Regions from separate parts of the Homo sapiens genome. Here region 1 is linked to region 2. The links are contacts of gene promoters, found by promoter capture Hi-C in blood cells and fetal thymus (Javierre and others, 2016). All regions are on one chromosome and are shown on one strand. The core of a region is centred on a gene start or on the middle of the fragment in contact, and the rest is flanking DNA. Distances in the headings are between cores, read along the strand shown.

Evidence for each region. The method cuts DNA at HindIII sites, captures the fragments that hold promoters and counts their contacts. A CHiCAGO score of 5 or more calls a contact.
Region 1: a contact is called between a fragment that was not itself captured here and the fragment with the promoter of DSP in region 2, in 1 of 17 cell types (naive B cells). The highest score is 5.5, in naive B cells.

What each region holds. Positions count from the first base shown.
Region 1 is chr6:7,292,510-7,298,274 of GRCh38, forward strand. It overlaps SSR1 (signal sequence receptor subunit 1), which reads right to left. Exons shown (of 8, transcript NM_003144.5): 6 at 5,414-5,492; 7 at 2,883-2,976. Among named protein-coding and RNA genes, the nearest start is that of SSR1, 18 kb to the right of the region's middle. The HindIII fragment of the contact is 8,134 bases long and covers 1-5,579 here.
Region 2 is chr6:7,537,414-7,542,920 of GRCh38, forward strand. DSP (desmoplakin) reads left to right here and starts at 4,258. Exons shown (of 24, transcript NM_004415.4): 1 at 4,258-4,672. The coding sequence starts at 4,503. DSP-AS1 (DSP antisense RNA 1) reads right to left here. Exons shown (of 2, transcript NR_183331.1): 2 at 3,038-3,640. RefSeq lists an enhancer at 1-2,246. The HindIII fragment of the contact is 6,836 bases long and covers 1,011-5,507 here.

The sequences.
Region 1 (5,765 bases), core at 263-2,762, 250 kb before region 2:
CTTTGCAGTCCTCCACAAAGTGATCCTAATTTTTCCTTTCTTTTCTTTTTTTTCTCTTAGAGATGGGAGACTTGCTATGTGGCCGAGGCTGGATTCGAACTTCTGGGCTCAAGCGATCCTCCTGCCTTAACATTTCCAGTAGCTGAGACTACATGTGCACACCACCATGCCCAGCTTACCATAATTTTTAAAACACAATTGTAATTCCTCTCCTTTAAAGTGGCTCTTTGACCTAGGAGTCAAAAGTTGTTAGCATAGCTCATAAAACCTTAAAGACTCCTTCTCACCCAACCTTTCAAGACTCGGGTCTAGTGCTGACCTCCTCCTGTGCTCTTGTTACTTTGAACCCACCTTTCATAAAGCAACTGCTATACTGCAATATGACAGCTAGCTCACAGAAAGAGACAGCTAGCTCACAGAAAGCAGTAGAGAAAACAATTTAAAAATGGAAAAGGACCTGAACAGCCAATTCACAGGAAAAGAAACCCTAGCCAATACAGTCATCTCTATTATCTGCAGGAAATTAGTTCCAGGACTACTCCCCCACGGCAACCCCACCCAAATCCAGGCATACTGAAGTTCCGCTGTCAGCACTGAGGAACCGGTGGATACAAAAAGCCTTCCCTGTACTTAGGTTTGGTATCCTGCAAAAACTGTGATTTCCTTTTTTTTTTTTTAATAGATTTTATTTTACTATTATTTCACTAGTTTTGAGGGACAGATGGTGTTTGGCTACATGGGTAAGTTCTTTAGTGGTGACTTCTGAGACTCTGGCGCATCCATCACCCAAGCTGTGTATACGATAACCCATGTGTAGTCTTTTATCCCTCACCCCCCTCCTACCCTTCCCCGAGTCCCAAAAGTCCATTATATCATTCTTATGCCTCTGCGTCCTCAGAGCTTAGCTCCTCAATGATTTCCTTTCCTCCCCACCCCCACCTTTTCTTTTGAGACAGAGTCTCACTGTCACCCAGGCTGGAGTGCAGTGGCACCATCATGGAGCAATCACGGACCTACCAGGCTCAAGCAATCCTCCCACCTCAGCCTAGGCGCACGTCAACACATGTATTTTTTTTTCATTCTTTGTAGAGATGGGGTCTCACTATGTTGCCAAGGCTAGTCTCAAACTCCTGGGCTCAGGCGATCCTCCTGCCTCAGCCTCCCAAAGTGCTGGGATTACAGGTGTGAACCACCACGCCTGGCCAAATATTGTATTTTTTATCTGCTTTTGGTTGCAGATGTGGAACCCACCAATATACCGAGGGTCAATTATATTGAAAAAATCTGTATATAAAGTGAAACCCAAGCAGTTCAAACCTGTGTCTTTCAAGGGTCAACTATGAATATGTATAAAGGAGCTGAACCTCATTCTTAAAGAAATGCAAATGAAACAGTAAGACACTCATTTTATATCATACCGACAGATTAAATAGGCAATATTGTGCATGGTTGAGAACATAAATTGGCACTACCTTTTTTTCCCCTTTTAGGAGGGAAATGGGGTCCCTTCCATAAAAATTCAGTGTATTTAATCTTAGACCTAGTTACTCTACCTTTAAGAAGTTATCCTATAAATTTATATATAAGAATATTCATTACAGTATCATCTGTAGGAGTGAAAAAATAAAAGTAACCAATATCCTTCCAATACAGAACAGGTTTAATCTATCATGACATACATATATATATAAAATAATATTGTCTAGTTGTAAAAAAACAGTTTAGTAAATATTTATGTAGTTACTACAAAGAGACATCCAAGGTATGAAAACTGAAGTTGTAGACAGCATGATGCAATCTGAACTAAATACTCACATAAAAACAATAGGCGTATATGCTTATAGATATATAGAAATTAATGGAAAATATAAACATAATACCATTTATGAAAAATAGGGCCGGGCGTGGTGGCTCACGCCTGTAATCCCAGGACTTTGGGAGGCCGAGGCTAGCGGATCACTTGAGGTCAGGAGGTCGAAGCCAGCCAGGCCAACATGGTGAAACCCTGTCTCTACTAAAAATACAAAAAAAATTAGCCGGGCGTGGTGGCACGTGCCTGTAATCCCAGCTACTTGGGAAGCTGAGGCAGGAGAATCACTCGAACCCAGGAGGCGGAGGTAGCAGTGAGCCAAGACCATGCCACTGCACTCCAGCCTGGGCGACAGAGCAAGATTCCATCTCAAATAAATAAATAAATAAATAAATAAATAGGATTAATGAAGTCAGGAATTGACTTATTTTTTTCACTTCTGTACTATTTAATTTTTTATAATGAGGCTGCATTGGTTTTATAATAAACATTTTTAAAATGTCCTACAATTGAAGAAACATTTCTATATTCTTTTATAAAGGTTAGTATTTTAACTGAATATGTAATAAAACTGAAATGTATCTGTAAAATAAATTGTCGGGTAATATTTTAGGTTTATTCTTTCAAGTTATACTGGGTAGTTTTTCTAATAAAATGTAGTAAGAAAAATTGTTCCATTACTCATTAAACTTGACGTAAAATATTTACGTGCTATTTGAGAGCCCCCAATTCTCTAGCAAAAACCATTAAAAAAATTAAATGCCTCACCTCTTCTACTCTGCACTGAAGCAACAGAAAGAAAAGAGACAGGAAATGGATTAGGAACACAGAAAATTCACACATTCATAAATAAGCTGCAGATCTGGAAGAATTTCCAAATTAAAGCATAAGAAGACTACACACTGAATAAACCTTTAAGGTCTTAATTAATCACTATACTAGATTCTACACAAGTAATGGAAAAGATGAATGTTAAATAGTACTGAAAAAGTTTTTTTTTTAAACTAAATCTAAGGTATTTAATTTCCACTTAAGAGAAAAACTTCCCAGCCAAGTCTGTAAGACTACTTACTGATTTGATTCAATGTTTCCTGAGGAATCCAACTCATGTCAACATCATTCTGACTTGATGTACCCATTTCTACTTTCTGTATGGGTCTCTTACGCTAAAAGAACATAAAGACATATTTTAAAGGAGTTCCGTTACACCATTTACTTAATATTTTTTAAAAAAGAGTTGAGGTCTTGCTATGTTGCCCAGGCTGCCTGGAACTCCTGGGCTCAAGCAATCCTCCTGCCTGAGCCTCCCAAGTAGCTGGGACTATAGGCACATACTATCATGACCAGCTGTTTACTCTAATTTTTAAAACACCTATCAAATTACTTAATTTAAATATCTTGGTAAACAAGTTATATTCTCTTCTAGTCTTCCTAGAACATACTTCTACTCAAATACTTTATTAAAGGGAAGGAGAAAATCATGTCTAGTACTGATGATAAAGAATAAATCTTCATCACATTTATTTTCAGGCTTTAAAGACCTTTCCCCTTGCTATAAAGGTTCATGTTATGTACCACTGGTGGACCACATAAGAGTATCTATTTATACAATGACTTTATTTCCCTTTAGGAATCAAATTGTAATCAAAGAATAAATTTATTTCTATATTCAACAAAATTCAGGATAACTGCTGATATGTTACATGCAGGCAGTTTCTGCATCGTAAGCTAAATACAATTAAACAGTTGGCACAGACAAAACAAAACGAAACCATAAAATCTCATTAAGCTAACCACCTCAATTTAAGAACTTCAAACTTTCTCCCTAGAGTATTTACAGCAAAACTGCTAGAAAGTAAAAATGACTCATTTAGCCTTGCTTTAAAAAAAAACCCAAGAAACCAACAAACCTCAGTTTATCTACATAAGAAACAGTATTAATTATATAATCCGTAAGTTAGAACCTAAGTACATGGAGAGATAACTTAAAAATAGTTTCATTTAAATAGAAGAAAAATGGAGATGCAGTTATACCTAATATACAAATTTACAGCAAAAATTCCAACCATTATGACAATGAGGCAAAGCGAGTTTTAGAAATTAACATTTAAACACAAAGTATTTCTCTTTTAAAGAGAAAGAGCTTATTAATAACATTCATTGTTAATTTTAATATAGATTTGACTGCCTGACTAAAGGCTTAATAAATAATCGCCAAAATGATTAGCAACTGTTTAGGGTCTAATGAATTATATTAACATATTTGATAAAATTGTTTATATTTTCCCACTGAGAGAAATAGTATAGGTTTTGTTTTTGTAGGCTGGAGGGAAGGAAAGGAGGAGGGTGAGTGAGGGAAGGAAAGGAGGAGGGTGAGTGAGGGAAGGAAAGGAGGAGGGTGAGTGAGGGAATGGGGAAGAGGAGGGAAATAAGGATGTGGTAGGGAATGAATCCAGAGTGAGAACCATGATCGTGGCAGACCCTAGGTGTTACCATTTTATTACTCTAACCACAAAAACAGAATTTTGACTGAGAGAACAAAATGTATTAGTTCTTTTTCCAATGAAAGGACTTGTTTATTAATTAAGGATTGTTTCTATAATTAAGAGTATTAACGCAGGCTGAGTGTGGTGGCTCATGCCTACAATTCCAACACTTTGGGAAACCAACATGAGAGGACAGCTTGAGCCCAGGAGTTCGAGACCAGCCTGGGCAACATGGCGAAACCCTGTCTCTACAAAACATACAAAAATTAGCTGGGTGTGGTGGCGTGCACCTGTAGTTCGACTACTCAGGAAGCTGAGGTGGGAGGATGACTTGAGCCCCGAAGGCGGAGGTTGCAGTAAGCAAGATTGTGCCACTGCACTCCATCCTGGATGAAAGAGCCAGACTGTCTCAAAAAAAAAAAAAAAAAAAAGAATATTAAAGAAAATATAAAAGCTAGGTTACTTGCAGATAAAATAGCATACCCATTAAAAAGTAAAGTAAACAGAACAATAAAATCTGAGTTTAGGGAATAAAAATTCTAGCATTTAGAGCTACAATACCAATCCAAAGGTAAATATCACTCTGGAGGGCACAAAGGACAATAAATAATTGTATGTGTGTATGAAAGTCTAAATGAGGCCAGGTGCAGTGGCTCACACCTGTAATCCCAACACTTTGGGAGGCCAAGGTGGGCAGATTGCTCGAGTTCAGGAGTTTGAGACCAGCCTGGGCATATGGCAAAACCCTGCCTCTACAAAAAATTTTAAAATTAGCGGGGTGTGGTGGCATACACCTATGGTCCCAGCTAACCGGGAGGCTGAGTTGAGAGGATCACTTGAGCCCAGGAGGTTGAGGCCACAATGAGCTAAGATCACACCACTGCACACTCCAGCCTTGGGTGACAAAGTAAGACTCTGTCTCCAGAAAAAAAAAGAAAGTAAGTTTAAATGAATCAATTTACATATCTAAGGCTTCAGGTTTTATTTTAAAAAGGTACAACAAAGTTCTACGTATACAAACCCACAGTGACAGTATGAGGCCGAAGAACTAGACTGCTTAACTTAGTACTTAACAACTTTTGAAACACGGCTGTAAGAGGTGTTCATCCATAATTACCTTTCTAGATTCTAGGAGTTGATGAAGGCCAACAATAACCAGAAGCCCAAGACCAGCAAGGAACATATACATAAAGATTCTGGTACAAAAGGAGAAAATATGAACTGTCTTTAATTCAGAGGAAATACCACGTCTAATTACAACTATAATTATAACACATAATAGAAGCTTTCCAAATAACTTGTGGCGAAAAGGAATAAAATGCTTTGTATTCAACTTAAATCCAGGTAGTTAAGTTTTATAAATTACCTTTAAGAGCAATTAGTCAATTAAAAAAAACTCTATGATTGAAAATAGAATTACAATTTATGCTCTATTCAAAAGCTTGGTTTATAAAATAATTGCATTAGCT
Region 2 (5,507 bases), core at 3,008-5,507:
GCCGGTAATCCCAGCACTTTGGGAGGCCAAGGTGGGTGGATTGCTCGAGCCCAGGAGTTCCAGATCAGCTTGGGCAACAAGGTGAAATCCTGTATCTACAAAAAATACAAAAATTAGTCCAGTGTGGTGGTGTGCGCCTATAGTCTCAGCTACTGGGGAGGCTGAGGCAGGAGGATGACTTGAGCTCAGAAGGCAGAGGTTGTAGTGAGCCAAGATCATGCCACTGCACTCCAGGCTGGGCGACAAGTGTGAGACTCTGTCTCAAACAAAACAAAACAAAACAAAAACCCCAGAACTACTCCTCTGTTAGGCAGAACAGTTATTTTAACTCATGGGCTATAAATCTTCTTGTGATGAAGAGGTATCATTTACCAACACAAAGATATAGAGAGTTCCCATGGGATTTTGAGCAAGTAAATGATTCTTCTTAATCTCACTGAAATCAAAGTGTCGTTTTCTTTTAAAAATCTGCTCTGAATATGACTGATTCGTCTTTCCTAACTGCAAGGTGATTTCTAAGGTCAGCCAGAGAGAAAGTTGCCTGTCAGTGATCTGTTTTATCAGTACAAGGGGAGCTATCTATGAGTGGCAGGGAAAAAATAGCTGACCTTAGGTCAGCCAGTGAAGACTCTGCCAGACTTTGGATTCTGATTTTTTAAACCAAGTTGTAAGAAAACAAGCTACTTTTAAACCTCTTTGCTGCGCTTTCAAAATTCTATAAATATACCTTCATTATAGCATACTTAATGTTGTATTGTAATTATTTGTTTTACTACTGCAGACTTTGATATCCTGCAGAAAAAGAGTCATGCTTTATTCATCTTCATGTGTCTAGCATTGAATCTGTTGTGTAACATGGTAGATGTTCAATAACTGCTTTCTAAATGAATGCATCTTAAATGTGTCCAAGAGGGAGGTTTACTGATTTACATGTGGGATAAAGACAGGAACATTAACGGTTAAAATTTCGCATCCAGCAAAGAACTTTTGGCTTAACAGGTGGTACCTTAAGCTTTATATGTTTCACAGTGTTCAAGAATGTTCACGTATTTTATCTCATTTGACCCTCACTGTGGATTTGGAAGGTTGGCAGAGCAAGTGTTATTTCCATTATACACATGAAGAAATTGAGCTCTTGCATAAGTAAATTGTAGCACTAAGATTATAACTATGGGCAAGTTATCCTCGCTCTTCACTGTGTGATGAGCCAACCTGGACAACTGATGTGTGTGTGTGTGTATGTGCATGTGTGTGGGTGTGTGTTGAGGTGGGGGGTGTTCCATCTGTCGGGCATGTCAATCTGTTTATTTTATCCTCTTATCTTTCTTTATCACCCTTAGAGAAAGATAAATGAAAGCCACTGTCTTCCTAGAGCAGGCATGTTTGGTAGCTGGAAGCCGTTCGTGTTCTTGGGGATGCCTGGAAAAGCCCAGGAAGCAGTAAGATGGGTGAGGAAGCAACGCAGCCAGAGGTGTGATTGGTGGCGTGGGCTCTTCGCCTCCTCCTCTGTTTTGCCTGCAGATTGAACAGTTTTGTGAGTCTGGGTGGTGTTTGGGTCTGTGTGGAGCCTGGTTCCTATGACCGTAAGGGGACCCTTGGCTAACAAGAGCTTTTGTTACCACTGGGGGGGTGGTTAATAGATATGTGGGTTTTTTTTAAAAGGATAATTCTACCGTGCAATTGTGTAGCCTCTTTATTACACATTAGGGAAGAATAATCCCTGAATTTTTTTTTTTTTTTTTTTTTTGAGACAGAGTCTTGCTCTGTTACCTGGGCTGCAGTGCAATGACACGATCTCTGCTCAATATAATCTCCACCTCCTGGATTCAAGTGATACTCGTGCCTTTGCCTCCCAAACAGCTAGGATTACAGGCGCCTGCCACCACACCCAGCTAATTTTTGTATTTTTAGTAGAGATGGGGTTTCATCATGTTGGCCAGGCTGGTCTCGAACTCCTGACCTCAAGTGATCCACCCGCCTCTGCCTCCCAAAGTGCTGGGATTACAGGCATGAGCCACCGCACGGGCCCCTGAATTTCTTAAATCAAAGTTTTACTATAATATATTTAAGGGCAGTGACTGGACCCTATTTATCTTTGTATGTTGCAGAGTATTTCCATATCCTAGGTTATAATTATTTGCTGAACAAATGAGATGCATAGAGGGAAAACATCCTAAATGAAATGTTGTACATTATGCACTGACATTTTCCCTCCATGCATGTCTTTCTCTCCTCCACCAATGGATATTATGGGCTGTTTGTGCAGAGGCTGACTTCCAGCCATTGATTCTGTTTGAGAAAAACCACCGTCTTGTCTATAGATCAGTGTTTGTACAGGTTGAGCATCCCTAATCTGAAAATCTGAAATCCAAAATGCTCCCAAATCCAAACTTTCTGAGCACTGACATGATGACCACAAGTGGCGAATTCCACACCTGACCTCATGTGATGACTTGCAGTCAAAGTGCAGTCAAAACTTTGTTTCATGCACAAAATTATCTAAAATATTGTATAAAATTACCTTCAGGCCATGTGTATAAGGCATATAGAAAACATAAATAAATTTCATGTTTAGGCTTGAGTTCCATCCCCAAAGATCTCTCGTTACGTCTATGCAACTATTGCAAAATCCAAGAAAATCCAGAATCCAAAATATTTCTGGTCCCAAGCATTTTGGATAAGGGGTACTCAATCTGTATAATCATTTAAACACTTGACCACTTTGGTTTTATTAAAGATTCGAGGAAATTGAGACTACGATGCAAATTATTGGTTGTGCTAACAGTGATAAACTTTTATCTCATTATATGTGTTTACTCCTTGAATTTAAGACGTTCAGCTGTAAAAAGAAAAAGAACAAGACATTTTGTCAAAAATTATGCCTAAAGGGTCAAGTTGTCATGAGAAGTGCTATAATACGACAAATTTTAGAAAGTCCCCCCCACTCCCTTTACAACATAAAAATGTAGTTTTTTATTTTTGTTTTCAGTTCATAAACATTTTGGAAACGCACTGTATCAGAAGGTAATTAGCGGCATTGTTTGGAAAGATGAAAAATTTATTAGAAAAGATCTTTAAATGGCTTTTACTAAAGCGTCATTTAACAATTTTTCATATTATAGAAACAGCTTTTCATGGATGGTGTGACTGGGTCTGTATCCAAACCCGGTTCGGTTCCTGGAGCCAACGGCGTAGTTAACACTCAGCCTCTTGCAGTTAACACTCAGCCTCTTAACTGGGAGTGGCCCTGGAGCAAGTCGCTGGAATGTTCAAGCTCCGCGTCACTCATCGGTACCAAGTTGATGATCTCTGCCTAGGGTTCTTCGCCACCCTCAGGCTCAAGTCCCAGGAGGCCTCCTCCGCTGACTTGGGTGAACAGCTCTGAGTTCCGGAGAGGGTTCGGTCTGCGGAGAAGCGCGCGAGAGACAAGCATCCTCAAGGTTCTGGTACAAAATTTGGAAAATGGACCTGGCGTTGAAATCTTTACTCCTCGTTTAAAAAGACCATCGAAAGGGAAAAAATAAAAGAAATTGCAGTTTATATTTTTGTTATCCCATGAAAAATTAGCTGCAGTGTTTTCCTCTTCATGCCAAAGAGATTAATATTTACGGTGAAGACTTTTCCAGGAAGTCGTGGTTTTCTGTAAAAAAAGGTTTTACACATCAGAAATCGGACTTCTGGGGCAATTTCCTGAATTCCTGGAATAAAACAAAACAAAAAAAAGCCCCCAAACAAAACTCTATCATCTAAAGCGTTCCCTCCTCACTGTGGTCCTAGTCAATGCGTGGTAGGTAGCGTTTCCAGTGATCAACAAAAGTAAATATTTGACCAGTAAGTCTCCAATCGAGAGGCCCCTCCATTCCAGCTATTTCCGCCCGGGGACCGAGGAAATCCTCAAAAGCCGGGCCACGCATTCCCAGCCCGAGAGGCCCCAGCGCAGAGCGCAGCAGCCCCCGCGAGCGCAGGTCCTCCCCGCGGTGGCTTCGCCCAGGGCGCTTGGGTCTCGGGGACCCCGCCCCCGCCCCGCCCGGTGTTACTCAGGCCTCGGTGGCGCAGGGCGGAGTCGCGGGCGGCGGGCGCAGGTGGGGAGGGGCGGCCGGAGCGCGTCGGTGACACCCGCGGGGGGGCGGGGAAGGCGCGGCGGCCGCACCCCACCCTGGGAAGAAACCGGCCAGGTGTGGCCTAGGCGCCCAGTGCCAGCGGGGAGGAGACTCGCTCCGCCGCCGACCAACACCAACACCCAGCTCCGACGCAGCTCCTCTGCGCCCTTGCCGCCCTCCGAGCCACAGCTTTCCTCCCGCTCCTGCCCCCGGCCCGTCGCCGTCTCCGCGCTCGCAGCGGCCTCGGGAGGGCCCAGGTAGCGAGCAGCGACCTCGCGAGCCTTCCGCACTCCCGCCCGGTTCCCCGGCCGTCCGCCTATCCTTGGCCCCCTCCGCTTTCTCCGCGCCGGCCCGCCTCGCTTATGCCTCGGCGCTGAGCCGCTCTCCCGATTGCCCGCCGACATGAGCTGCAACGGAGGCTCCCACCCGCGGATCAACACTCTGGGCCGCATGATCCGCGCCGAGTCTGGCCCGGACCTGCGCTACGAGGTGACCAGCGGCGGCGGGGGCACCAGCAGGATGTACTATTCTCGGCGCGGCGTGATCACCGACCAGAACTCGGACGGCTACTGGTGGGTACCTGCCCGGAGAGCGCGGGCTGCGGGGCTCGCGGGACAGGGAGGGACCGTCCTCCTCTGGACGACTGGGAGACTCGGGTCCCGAAGGTGGAAAGGTTTTTTTGCCCCAGGTCCCGAAAGAACTTCCCGGCCGCGCTGGGAGCAGGACCGGGTGTCCTGACGCGTGCGGGGACAGGTTGGCCCCTGTCCTGCGAACAGGGACTCGGTCGTACCTTTCTCCCCTCCCGCGAGCCCGGGCGGGTGGTCAGAGGGGGCGTCGGGCCCGCGCGGGGCTGTCCCCTGCCTGCTGGACACGGCTGCAGCCGCCTTTGTCCCAGCCCGCGAATGGGAGGTCAGGCGAGGTGGGGCTGCGACCACAAAACCCAACCTCTCCAACCGTAATCAAAGTAAAAGAGGAAAGGAGCGGGGCCCCGGTCCTGTCTGGTGGCCGAGTGGTGCTCGGGGCTCCGCAGTCTCTACCGGCTCACCCCCAATCCCCAGTAACCCCGAGACCACGACTGCAACGACTCCTGGACTCCTCGGCCACCCAAGGACGTTTGTATCAAGGCTGCGCGTCCCGGCGGCGCGGGGTCCTGTCCCGAGGAGGCGCTTCGGCTTCCCCTGTCCGGGAAACGAAACTTCCCCGCCGGGGCGGCTGCCGGGCCCGGGTCTCGAAGTTCGGCCGGGACGTGCCTGTTACCTTCGGTCGTCCGCGCCGCAGCCCCCGCGGGCGAGCGCACCTGGGGCCCTGCCTCTGAGCCTTTTGTTTCCTCCTTTTTAAAAACACCGGATGAAAGACCCCAGTGTGCCTTGGATCGCAGAGCGCCGGCCGCATGTCTGCTTTGATCCA